Linked DNA regions of Homo sapiens: region 1 is linked to region 2. Evidence: promoter capture Hi-C in human tissues and cell types (Jung and others, 2019). All regions are on one chromosome and are shown on one strand. Each heading gives the region's core, a stretch centred on a gene start or on the middle of the fragment in contact. The rest is flanking DNA. Distances are from core to core; before and after follow the strand shown. Region 1 overlaps ABI2 (abl interactor 2). Region 2 holds the start of CTLA4 (cytotoxic T-lymphocyte associated protein 4).

Region 1 (6,305 bases), core at 587-3,086, 450 kb before region 2:
CTTAACCCAGCAGCGATGACCTGTCATTTTTGCCATTTTCTGTTCATTAAAGCAAGTTAATAGGATTAGTCAACACTGAAGGGGTAGGGATTACATAAAGGCATGAATACTATGAGGCAGAAATCATTGGGAGCTGTTTTAGAAGTTGTCTCCCACAAAACTATAAACTCACAGATCCAAGAAGTTCAATAAACCCCAAATAGAAGAAAAGAAAATCTTGCCAAGGCACATCATAATCAATTTGCTAAAAACCAGTACCTTAGAAAATCTTAAAGATAATCAGAGGAAAAATGACATATTACATACAGAGGAACAAAGATAAGAATGACTGCATGGTTCTCATCAAAAAGCTGTTAAGTCAGAGAATTGAGCAAAATCTTCAAAGTAATGAAGGAAAATGTCAACCCAGTGTTCTTTACTTAGCAAAAATATCCTTCCTAAATTAAAGATCTTTTTTTTTTTTTTTTTTTTGAGACGGAGTTTCGCTCTTGTTGCCCAGGCTGGAGTGCAATGGCGTGATCTCAGCTCACAGCAACCTCCACCTCCCGGGTTCACGCCATTCTTCTGCCTCAGCCTCCCGAGTAGCTGGGACTACCGGCGCCCACCACCGCGCCCCGCTAATTTTTTTGTATTTTTAGTAGAGACGTGGTTTCACGGTGGTCTTGATCTCCTGACCTCATGATCCGCCCGCCTAGGCCTCCTAAAGTGCTGGGATTACAGGCGTGAGCCACGAGGCAGAGTCTCGCTCTGTCGCCCAGGCTGGAGTGCAGTGGTGTGATCCTGGCTCACTGCAAGCTCCGACTACCGGGTTCACGCCATTCTCCTGCCTCAACCTGCTGAGTAGCTGGGACTACAGGCGCCTGCCACCATGCCTGGGTAATTTTTTGTATTTTTTTTTTTTTTGGTAGAGACGGGGTTTCACCGTGTTAGCCAGGATGGTCTCGATCTCCTGACCTCGTGATCTGCCCACCTCTGCCTCCCAAAGTGCTGGGATTACAGGCGTGAGCCACTGCGCCCAGCCTGTGCTTTGTATTTTATGTGGTTTGCCTTGTTTAATATAAGAATGCTTTGGGCTGTAATCCCAGCACTTTGGGAGGCTGAGGCGGGCCGAACACCTGAGGTTGGGAGTTGGAGACCAGCCTGACCAACATGGAGAAACCCCGTCTCTACTAAAAGTACAAAATTAGCTGGGCATGGTGATGCATGCCTGTAATCCCAACTACTCGGGAGGCTGAGGCAGGAGAATCACTTGAACTCCAGAGGCGGAGGTTGGGGAGAGCTGAGATCGCCCCATTGCACTCCAGCCTGGGCAACAAGAGCGAAACTCCATCTCCAAGAAAAACATGCTTTGAAATGTTAGCTCTATTGTAATTCCCATTATATAGTTGAATAAAAAGAAGCCTAGGAAAGTTAAGTATGTACTGTAAACTATTAATAGTTAAGTGTTAGAATTGGGATTTGACTGGGTGGTATAACTCTAGACCCCACACTCTTAACCATTGTCCTAAACGTGAGCTCTGGCATCTGGCAGACCTAGGATTGAGTCTTGGCTTTACAGTTTATGAGCATTAAGTCCTCCCTGGAAAACTTTTTTACTGCCCGTTTTGTATCTCTTAACTTTTGTAAAGCCATCTATTCTTTTGTTCTTCTGGCTCAGTGATACAGCTTTTAGCTAGAAGTATAAATGATATATAGGAATTGTCAGATAACATTTCTGTCTTCACAAGACTGTGACAGTCCCTTTTTTTTTTTTTTTGAGACGGAGTCTTGCTCTGTTGCCCAGGCTGGAGTGCAGTGGCACGGTCTTGGCTCACTGCAAGCTCTGCCTCCCAGGTTCACGCCATTCTCCTGCCTCAGCCTCCTGAGTAGGTGGGACTACAGGCACCTGCCAGCACACCCGGCTAATTTTTTGTATTTTTAGTAGAGACAGGGTTTCACCATGTTAGCCAGGATGGTCTCAATCTCCTGACCTTGTGATCCGCCCACCTCGGCCTCCCAAAGTGCTGGGATTACAGGTGTGAGCCACCACGCCCAGCCGACAGTCCCTTATCTGGTTCATCTTCGTACCTCTAAAAGTCAGCATGGATGCTCTATTAATGATTGTTAAAAAATGAATAGTGCCATTAATTCTTTCTGGGGAATTCCTAGAAAGCTTCTCAGAGAACATGGCGTTCTTGGTGCCTTGAATGATGAATAGGAGTTTCTCAGGCAGAGAAGAGAGAAAGGAAGGGCCTTCCAAGCTGAGGGAATCACGTGAGTGAGAGGGCATGGCTGTTTGGGGCAGAGCAGTGTCCAGTGCATGAGGGTGGGGGTGGGTTGTAGGGAGAGAGGGTGATATGAGCACGCAAAGGGAATAAATTGTAATTAGGTGGTGGGTGGCTAAAAATGACAATGCGAAGGTGTTGGATTAAAAAAAAAATCTGGTAGTAGAGGGAAATTATGGAGGATTTTTAAAAAGGTTAATGATAATATCCATCTACTTATGTAACTTTTTTTGGAGATACCTGATAATAGTGTAGAGTGCATTGGAGAGGAAAAGTAGGAGTTGTAAAGACCATTTTGGATAAACTTTGAAGCAAGGGATAATGGCCTCAACCAAGGTAGTGGTGCTGAAAAGATTGTTTACATAAATAAGCAGATACAAATAGAAGGATTTTTCAAGTGGCATTGTAACTGCACTTTTCAAAGTTATTTGCCAAAAATCAAATAACGTATCTTCAAAAATCATGTTTGATGATGTATCATCAAGGTCTTTCTTAAATTTTGTTGAAAGCAAAGGAATAAGAGCCACCTGATTTGCAAACGGATTGAGTTACTCAGTGGAGTAATTCTTTTAATATGAGCACCATTATTTTGAATGGTCCCTTTGGCACCCAGTGTTTTGTACTTTAAGACAGTGCACCACTGTGCTTTTTTTAAGTAGAAGGACAAAAAGGATATAAAAACTTTTATGACTGCTTGACTGAAGGTATGATCTCAAGCAGATCAATTTTAGGAAGCAGTACTTAAGATTAGAAAATCTAGAAAGAGGCCAGGCATGGTGGCTCACGCCTGTAATCCCAGCACTTTGGGAGGCCAAGGCCGGCAGATGACAAGGTCAAGAGATCAAGACCATCCAGCCAACATGGTGAAACCCCACCTCTACTACAAGTTCAAAAATTAGCTGGGTGTGGTGGTGCACGCCTGTAGTCCCAGCAACTCAGGAGGCTGAGGCAGGAGAATCACTTGAACCCAGGAGGTGGAGCTTGCAGTGAGCCAAGATCACTCGCCACCGCACTCCAGCCTGGCAACAGAGTGAGACTCTGTCTCAAAAAAAAAAAAAAAAAAAATCTAGAAAGAGAGCCAGTTGCATGTAGTGGCTCACACCTGTAATCCCTTAAAGTGCTGTAAAGCACTTTAAGAGGCTGAGGCCGGCGGATTGCTTGAGACGAGGAGTTCAAGACCAGCCTGGGCAACATGGCGATACCCTCGTCTCTACAAAAAATTAGAAAACTTAGCCAGACATGGTGGTGCATGCCTGTAGTTCCAGCTACTCTGGAGGCTGAGGTGGGAGCATCACCTGAGCCCAGGAGTTTGAAGGCTGCAGTGAGCTGCGATTGCACCACTGCCTGGGGACAGTAAGACTCTGTCTCAATAAAAAGAAAAAAAATATCGAGAGTCCCTATAAACTGTCTGCCACCCACACTGCTTAGAAAATCTCAGGTACCCTGAGTGATAAATGTAATCAATTTTAAAGATGGGTGCACTAACTGGGGCGGTGACTATGATGATGGAGAGAAGTCGAGTGTTGGTATTTGGGAGATTTAGAAGGTGGAATTAACAGGACTTGGGGATGTCGGGGAAGGTGAGTGAGGGGAAGGCAAAGATGACTCCTAGTTTCCTGGCTCCACAGAAGCGTAGTAATCAGATAACTGGGAGAAGACACTGTCATGGAAGCCATGGAGGAAAATGTCAAGAAGCAGGCAGAGGTAATCATCATTGCCAAACACTACAGGAACATTAGACAAAGAACTGAGAAGAGGCTCAAAAGTAGAAGGCCAGTTTTTTTCAAGTGAATAGTTTCATTGGAGTGGTAGGGGCAGAAGGAATATGGCTGTATTAGTTAAGCAGCATTATTTTCATTGAAACAGCATCTCCAGTGGGTTCTAAAACATTTCTTAGAATACATTAAGTGGTTTAACCAACTCTTCATTGATAGTGTCCAGGTTAACTTTGCTCTACCTCAGGACAGGTTATAACATAAATTCCAAAGTATGTTAAATGTTTTGCTGGCTTAGGATGAACTTTTTTCCATATAAATAAAATGATGTCAACTCACAATATGTAATTTAATACAAACAGTATATTGAAATGGATAATCTTACTAGCATTTTGATTTTTCCAGTGGCTTGCTAGTTTAGGGTACTTAATTGTTAGGTGTGGTTGCTAATACCCTACAATATTTGGTGGTCAGTCTTTTTAGTTCAGATCAGTCACTTCTATGTAACATGCTCCTTTTGGGCCTTTTTGTTTTACATTGTTATTTTAGTATCACCTTAATTTTTCCCCCAATATGTATTTAAGTTACCTTTATTACTCACTGTGTAACTGAATAATATAGAATATAGATGTATTTAGAAGTATCCAAAAAGCTAGGCCTTGTGTTAGGCGCTAGGGATACACAGAGATGAGTGATGGGCCCTTACCTCCAGGAGTTTATAGTGTAGAGAGTTTTATGTTTAGATTGCTCCTCTTTGTTTCAATTTACTATTTTAGGAGAGAAAAAATCATCTGGGTCCTTTTTTTTCTGAGACGGAGTCTCGCTCTGTCGCTCAGGCTAGAGTGCAGTGGTGCAATCTCGGCTCACTGCAACCTCCGCCTCCCAGGTTCACGCCATTCTCCTGCCTCAGCCCCACGAGTAGCTGGGACTACAGGCGCCGGCCACCATGCCTGCTAAATTTTGCATTTTTAGTAGAGGCGGGGTTTCACCATATTGGCCAGGCTGGTCTCAAACCTGACCTTGTGATCTGCCCACCTTGGCCTTCCAAAGTGCTGGGATTACAGGCGTGAGCCACCGCGCCCAGCCCAATCTGGGTCCTTTTCTGCTGGCATGGTACCATTATTCTTTGCTTATCTTTAACTCTGCAGCATACTTCATATAAAATTATAGGATTAAAATTAAAAAGAGAATCATTTAAGCTAAGAAGTTTTTTTCAGTTTTACAGACCTTCATAAAATATTCTAGAATGTATTCAATTGAAATGCTAAATATGAACAATGTACTTTGAAATTTAGAATGTATTTTTACTTTAGCAGAAACATTTAGAAGAACAATGTGTAAGTCCTTTTCTGTTTCAGTCATAACTGCACAAAAACCAGATGTCTAGCATTTTAAGTTTTTTCTTACATGTGCTTTATCAGTTCCCCATATGATTTTGATACTATGCGTGATATACATGCATAATTGGAAAAAGTGACTTTCTTCCCTATTGCCAAAACCAGTTTTCCAGACTAAATAAAATCTAGACAGATTTTACATTTCTCAACATCGGTATTTTGAATATTGGTGAAAACACAGATACTTTATTACACCGCTTTAGAGTTACTTTGATAAAAGTTTGTTGCACTAAATCAAGAGTATTTTGCTTTTTGATGAATGGCTTTACAGTAAAGAATTAGATGAAGTAAACTGCTGGTGTATATCTTTCCCTGGAGTGAAGTAAACTACTGGTGTATATCTTTCCCTGGAGTGAAAATGAATATTCATTTAAAAATTACTTATCAGGGTCTCGTTCTGTCACCTGGGCTGGAGTGCAGTGGTACGTTCAGTGCTTACTGCAGCCTCAACTTTCTGGGCTCAAGCGATCCTCCTGCTTCAGCCTCCCAAGTAGCTGGGACCACAGACGTGCACCACCATGCCTGGCTAATTTATTATTTTTATTTTTTTAGAGACAGGGTTTTGCTATGTTTCCCAGACCAGTCTTGAACTCATGGCCTCAAGTGATTCTCCTGCCTCGGCCTCCCAAAGTTCTGGGATTATAGGTGTGAGCCACAGTGCTCAGCCAGAAAGTGAATATTCTATACAGCATATTTCTGATTTTTGAAAAAGTTAATTTTAAAATAGTGAATACTAATTTTGGCAAAAGAAAAAGCTGAACAGTTGTTAAAACTCTCAGCTCTCTACCATTATAAACAGTCTCTGGAATCATGTTAAGTGTAAATTCTATCTAATCTAGTTTCTACTTTTGATTTGTTTTGAGACAGTCTCACTCTGTTACCCAGGCTAGAGTGCAGTGGGAAAATCACGGCTTATTTCAGCCTCAACT
Region 2 (6,572 bases), core at 2,804-5,303:
GACACATATTTTTGCTGAACCTTCTGAGAGTACTTGCTGACATTCTGACACTTAAACCTCGAATACCTAAGTATTATCTATAAACAAGGATGGTTCTCTACATAACCCCAGTACGATGATCACATTCAGGAAATTAAACATTAAGGCAATGCTATTATGAAATATAGGCTATACTCAAATTTCCCCCAGTTTCTCAGTAATCTGCTTTGTATTATTTTTTTCAATCAATAATAACACATTAAATTCTGTCATCATGTCTCTATTTTCTCCTTTAATCTAGAATGGTTTTCCAGGCTTTTCCCTTTTTAATCTTTTGTGATGTTAACATTTTTGAAGAATCTAGGCCAGTTATTTTGCAGAATATGGATTTGTCTGATTATTTCTTCATGCTTAGATTCAGTTAAAACAATTTTGGCAATAACTACACAAAGTTGTTGTGTCCTTCTCAGTGTATTGTATCTGGAGGTACCCTATGTCAGAACACTCCATCACAGTAATCTTCAGTTGGGATCACTTGGTTAAAGCAGTATCTGCTAGATTTATCAATTATCTTTTCCCTATTGTAATTATCAAGTAATCTGTGGGGTGGTATATGTGAATATATCTTTTCTCACCAAGATTCTTTTACCCAGCATTTTTTTTACAACCATTTGAATTTTCTTGCTATGACAGAATTAGTTTCATAAGAGCATAATTAAGGAATCTGGTAAGACGTCTTTGAAAGTTCTAATTACAACCCTCATCTCTTCTTATGTTAAACTGTCTTCATTCATTTACCTACCTATTTAACAAATGTTTAAAGAATGCTCGTTTTGTGGCTTGGCCTGTGACATTTTCATCAGTGGCTTCATAGTTGCCTAAACTAATGTCTCTTCCTGTGCTCCAGAATCCTATTGGCAACTATTTTCCATGGATGCCATAAACTCAACATACTCAGATGAAAGCTGTCATTTCACTTTCTCACCTGCTCTTCCTGTTATTTATTCCAGTAAATTGCACCTCTGTCTTCTCATTGACCCTATAATAAGAAAGGCCTATTTATTGAGTGGCTATCTGTTACAATAGGCCTTTTATACATGTTACATGCATTATCTCATTTAATCTTTTCAATAATCTTGAGAATTAGATGCCATTATCTGGAGGACATTGGGCTTTGAGCCCCAGGTCAACAGTAAGCAAGTCCCCATGCTAGGATACAAATCCAGTTATCTTGGGCTTCAAAATCTTTGCTTTAGCATAGTGATAAAGGTATCACTGGCTTCAAATCCTGGCTCTGCCACTTCCTACGGGTGATTGGGTAAGTCACCTTAACTTTCAATGCCTTGATTTCCTTCTTTATAAAATGGGAAAAATGGTAACTCTTGTCTTGTAGGGTTGTTATGGACTTGAAAGAAACAAAACTTGCTGGGCGCGGTGGCTCACGCCTGTAATCCCAGCGCTTTGGGAGGCCGAGGCGGGTAGATCACCTGAGGTCAGGAATTTGAGACTAGCCTGGTCAACATGGCGAAACCCCATCTCTACTAAAATAATACAAAAAATTAGCTGGGCGTGGTGGTGGGTGCCTGCAATCCCAGCTACTTGGGAGGCTGAGGCAGGAGAATCACTTGAACCCAGGAGGCAGAGGTTGCAGTGAGCCGAGATCGCGCCACTGCACTCCAACCTGGGAAACAAGAGTGAAACTCTGTCTCAAAAAAATAAAAAAGAAAAGAAAGAAAACTTGACATTTGAATAATTTCTGCAGCACCACAGTACTTCTCAAACCATAATTCTGGTGTCATTCATTCTAAACTTCTCCTTCCACTCACTGATTGTGGACTAGTCCCATAGGGACCTCGTCTTCACAGCTGTCATTACCTTAGTTTAGACCAGGGGTTGGCAAACCATGGCCCACAGGCCAAATCCAGACTTCACCTATTTTCGTAAATGAAGTTTTATTGGAATGCACACACACCCATTTGTTTACATATAATATATGGCTTCTTTCATTCTAAAATGACAGAGTTGAGTAGTGGCAACAGAGACCCCACCGTTTGCAAATCATAACATATTTACTATTTTGCCCCCTTCAGAAAGCTTTCCAAATCCTGGTGCCTGGCGTATTCCAATAGTCTTCTTCCCAGTCTTCCTGGTTACATTTCTCCCTGAACCCATCCTCCCCATCCCTAAAATTTCCCCCAAATGTGAACTCAGTCATACCAGTTTGCTCCTTATGTTTCATTGGCCCTTGCTGCTAAGAGCATCCGCTTGCACCTTCTGCTCATCCCCAGACAAGCTTTGTCCTGTGACCATAATGAACTCTTCATGCCGTTTCCAACTTTAGCCCATGTTATTCTTCTTGTCTGAATATCCACCCTTTTCTCTGTTCTCAATAATAAGTTCAGGCTTTTCGTCTTCTGAGAAGCCCTTTCTGACTTCCACAGGCTGAACCACTGGCTTCTGCTCCTCTACATAATACTTCAATTCCAGCATTGATCTCACTCTATCATGATCATGGGTTTAGCTGTCTGTCCCTGCCACTGCTGTGTGTTCCTCTTGAGGGCAGGAACATTTGTTTTTCACTTTTTAAAAAACCTCTGTTGCCCAGTCTGGCATTAGGAAGTGCCCATTAGGTTGTTATTGCTTGTTGGCGCTTGAGCTGGGGCTTGAAGGTTTCTATAATGTGTAGCAGTGTATAGAAAACAGGCAGGTCAGAAAAGGCTTCTGTGCATCACACCAACATGGCACATGTATACATATGTAACAAATCTGCATGTTGTGCACATGTACCCTAAAACTTAAAGTATAATAATAATAAAATTTTAAAAAAAAAAAGAAGAGGCTTCCTGGAGGAGATGACAGCTGAGCTAAGTCCTGGAGGATGAGAAGGAGTATAAAATAAGATAATAGGAGAAAAAAGGCAGTAGGAACAGCATGGGTAAAGGTGATGAGGCCTGAAAGAGGCACGTGGAAGGAAAGACAAATGCAGGAAGGGGGAATGGGAGGGAATGCTGGGGTACAGGCCAAAGAGGGAGGCATTTGGTGAGTATTCTGCAGAGTCTCCTCTGCTGTGCTGAGGTGTGGACAATGGGAAACCATGGACGGACTGGAGTAGGCAAATGTCATATTCCCTGTTACAACTGTCTGTTTGCATGTCAGCCTTCTAGAAGCCCCTTAAGGTATCAACTATGTTTTTGTTTTGTCATCATTCAATCCTAAGTGCACAGAATTCCGGGCATATTACAGGTTCCCCATGAATGTTTCTTTCTTTATTAAAATGTATGAAAACTCTCCAGATTTAAGGAAGGTCCTCAATGTTTCAAATTCTTTTTGTTAGATCATTGGTCCTGTCTACAGCTGTCACAAATTTAAGGACTCTGGTTATATTTAATCTTCACTTTTGAATTTTCTGCTTGAAAAATTTGTATTAGAAAAAAAAGTCTATCCTTTTATGGACGGCTCTAATCTCTTGAATCATTTGGGTTGGCTTTTCTTTGGACCTTCTTCAACTCTGTTTTGTCTCTGTTGAGTTAAGGCTTTTAAGAACACCTGAATTCTTTCCTTCTGCAAAACCAGAGGCAGCTTCTTTTCCGCCTATTTTCAGTTTATTTCTTGTGATTTTAGTTTTTTTCTCTTAACCAAATGCTAAATGGATTTAGGAGAAATAAACTTATTTGTAAAGCTGTCAAGGGACCATTAGAAGGATGGTGCTTCACAGATAGAATACAGTTTTTATTAATGATGCCTAGACAAATCCTGCCATTAGCCCAAGGGCTCAGAAAGTTAGCAGCCTAGTAGTTTTGGAGTTGTCAATGAAATGAATTGGACTGGATGGTTAAGGATGCCCAGAAGATTGAATAAAATTGGGATTTAGGAGGACCCTTGTACTCCAGGAAATTCTCCAAGTCTCCACTTAGTTATCCAGATCCTCAAAGTGAACATGAAGCTTCAGTTTCAAATTGAATACATTTTCCATCCATGGATTGGCTTGTTTTGTTCAGTTGAGTGCTTGAGGTTGTCTTTTCGACGTAACAGCTAAACCCACGGCTTCCTTTCTCGTAAAACCAAAACAAAAAGGCTTTCTATTCAAGTGCCTTCTGTGTGTGCACATGTGTAATACATATCTGGGATCAAAGCTATCTATATAAAGTCCTTGATTCTGTGTGGGTTCAAACACATTTCAAAGCTTCAGGATCCTGAAAGGTTTTGCTCTACTTCCTGAAGACCTGAACACCGCTCCCATAAAGCCATGGCTTGCCTTGGATTTCAGCGGCACAAGGCTCAGCTGAACCTGGCTACCAGGACCTGGCCCTGCACTCTCCTGTTTTTTCTTCTCTTCATCCCTGTCTTCTGCAAAGGTGAGTGAGACTTTTGGAGCATGAAGATGGAGGAGGTGTTTCTCCTACCTGGGTTTCATTTGTTTCAGCAGTCAAAGGCAGTGATTTATAGCAAAGCCAGAAGTTAAAGGTAAAACTCCAATCTGGCTTGGCTGGCTCTGTATTCCAGGGCCAGCAGGGAGCAGTTGGGCGGCAGCAAATAAGGCAAAGAGATAGCTCAGAACAGAGCGCCAGGTATTTAGTAGGGGCTTCATGAATGCATGTGAGTTGGTTTAGTAGAGAGACACAGGCAATTTCAGACCCTTCTATGAGACTGGAAGTGATTTAAGAGGGAAAGGATAGCCATAGTCCTGAATACATTTGAGCTGGGTTTCAGGATGAGCTCACAAGTTCCTTTAAAAAAAATTGACTTAAGCAAATCCTGGGAAGAGTTTTTTTGCTATACAATTCAAGGTTTTAAGGTCCTCGGATTCATATACTTTATAAATGAATTAGCCAGCTTGTTTAAAATGTAGGGAAATTGTGGGAAGAATGCCTTCTTTACTTAATTCAAGGTTTTAAGGTTCTCTTAATCAATTCTACTAGCTAATTAGCCAATTATTTAAAAATAAAAGTTTGAAATTGCCAAAAAAAAAAGACAAGGAAAAGGAAAGAAAGAAAGCCACCAGTCTGTTTGGCATACAATACTTAATTGTTGCCTGACCTACGTGTGGGTTTCAGATGCAGATCCTCAGTTTTCAGCTCTTCAGAGACTGACACCAGGTTTGTTACACGGCTTAAAATGATGAGTATATCCATTGAATCTCAACCTTATCTCTCTCTAGACCTTCTTGGTTAAGAAACCATGTAGTTTGTATGAAGTAGGTACTCAAAAGATATTTGATGATTTAATTTTTACTGGAGAAGAAATATTCATATATGTTTTCTTATTTTTACATGTTTTAAATATGTAAAGATTAAATAAACACTCTTAGAAGTATTTAAATTTCCTAAAGTAAATTTATCTCAACCAGTAACAGGACCCTCCCAATACTGGAAAGTTGAGTGTGACCGCATTTAGTGGTGATGAGTGTGAGCTTGCTTGGGGAGAGGGCAGGACATTTAGGATTTCTTAAGCTTAGAGTCAATACAATAAAGATTATTGAGTGCTCACTTGGGTGGGCTATAATCACTGCTCACAGGAGTTCATGAACCACAAGTAAAAGAGTGAGGAGATATGATTAGCTCACAAATAACTTTAATACAGAGCAGAAAGTAATGAACTACTGCAATGGAGTTATCACAGTGCTAAGGATGCTCAGAGGGCATCTCTGATAGGCAGAGGTGAGGGTTAGGGAAGGAAGCTGTAGTCTAGCTAGCTAGAGCTGCTGGAATAGACATGACAATGGCTGCTGCCAAACTGTTTTCTCTTCTGAGGACAGATGTCCCGTGCAAGTGGCTTGGTGGAAGGGACTAGTGTCTCTAATATAGGGTGATTTATAAGCAGGAAAGTGTGTCCTAGAAATTCAGACCAGAGTGATAGATTGGAATTGGATCATGGGGGACTCATTGAATGTTATTTATTGTATTTGTTTTTGCGATCAGTGTTAGTAAAGTGTCAAAGGGATTGAGCAGATGAGTGACATCATGCAACACAAGTTTTGAGTTTCACTTGTCAGACTGACTGGAGAGGGGCCTGGTTAGTTACAGGAAGGTAATTTGGCATGCAGCCACTATTTTTGAGTTGATGCAAGCCTCTCTGTATGGAGAGCTGGTCTCCTTTATCCTGTGGGAAAAGAGAACAAAGGAGCATGGGAGTGTTCAAGGGAAGGAGAAATAAAGGGCAGAGAGGCAGCGGTGGTGTCAGGGGAAGCCCACAGGAGTTAACAGCAGGGTTGCCTCAACCTAGAGAGGAAGCGACCTGGTGCCCTCGGCTCTGTGGCTTCCTTCATCTAACAACATCTTCCACTCTACAACAATGCCAGGGAAGGCGGAGGCTGGTACAGTGCATCAAGACACAGCTACTCCTGGGTGACAGAGGTTCAGGGCCAGCTCACTAAGTAGGCAGAAGTTTTTGACATATACTTTGAGAGATAAAGCAAGATTCTGTACCTCAACCTTCAGAATTTCCCCTACCACTCATTATAGTTCCGGAGCTATATAGCTCCTATCATTCTATCATAACCTTAGAATACCAGAGAACATATCATCTCATCTAATTATCTCTTACTATATGTGAAAAAAATGAAGGACATGGGGGAAGTGTGACTTGCCCCAAAT

What was found. The method cuts DNA at HindIII sites, captures the fragments that hold promoters and counts their contacts. A contact is called where the count stands out against the background at its distance.
Region 1: a fragment that was not itself captured here is called in contact with the fragment with the promoter of CTLA4 in region 2 in 1 of the 25 tissues and cell types used here (mesenchymal stem cells).

The regions. Positions count from the first base shown.
Region 1 is chr2:203,418,656-203,424,960 of GRCh38, forward strand. The region is part of intron 11 of ABI2 (abl interactor 2); the gene reads left to right. Among named protein-coding and RNA genes, the nearest start is that of ABI2, 93 kb to the left of the region's middle. The HindIII fragment of the contact is 6,605 bases long and covers 1-5,139 here.
Region 2 is chr2:203,863,718-203,870,289 of GRCh38, forward strand. CTLA4 (cytotoxic T-lymphocyte associated protein 4) reads left to right here and starts at 4,054. Exons shown (of 4, transcript NM_005214.5): 1 at 4,054-4,334. The coding sequence starts at 4,226. The HindIII fragment of the contact is 1,698 bases long and covers 3,098-4,795 here.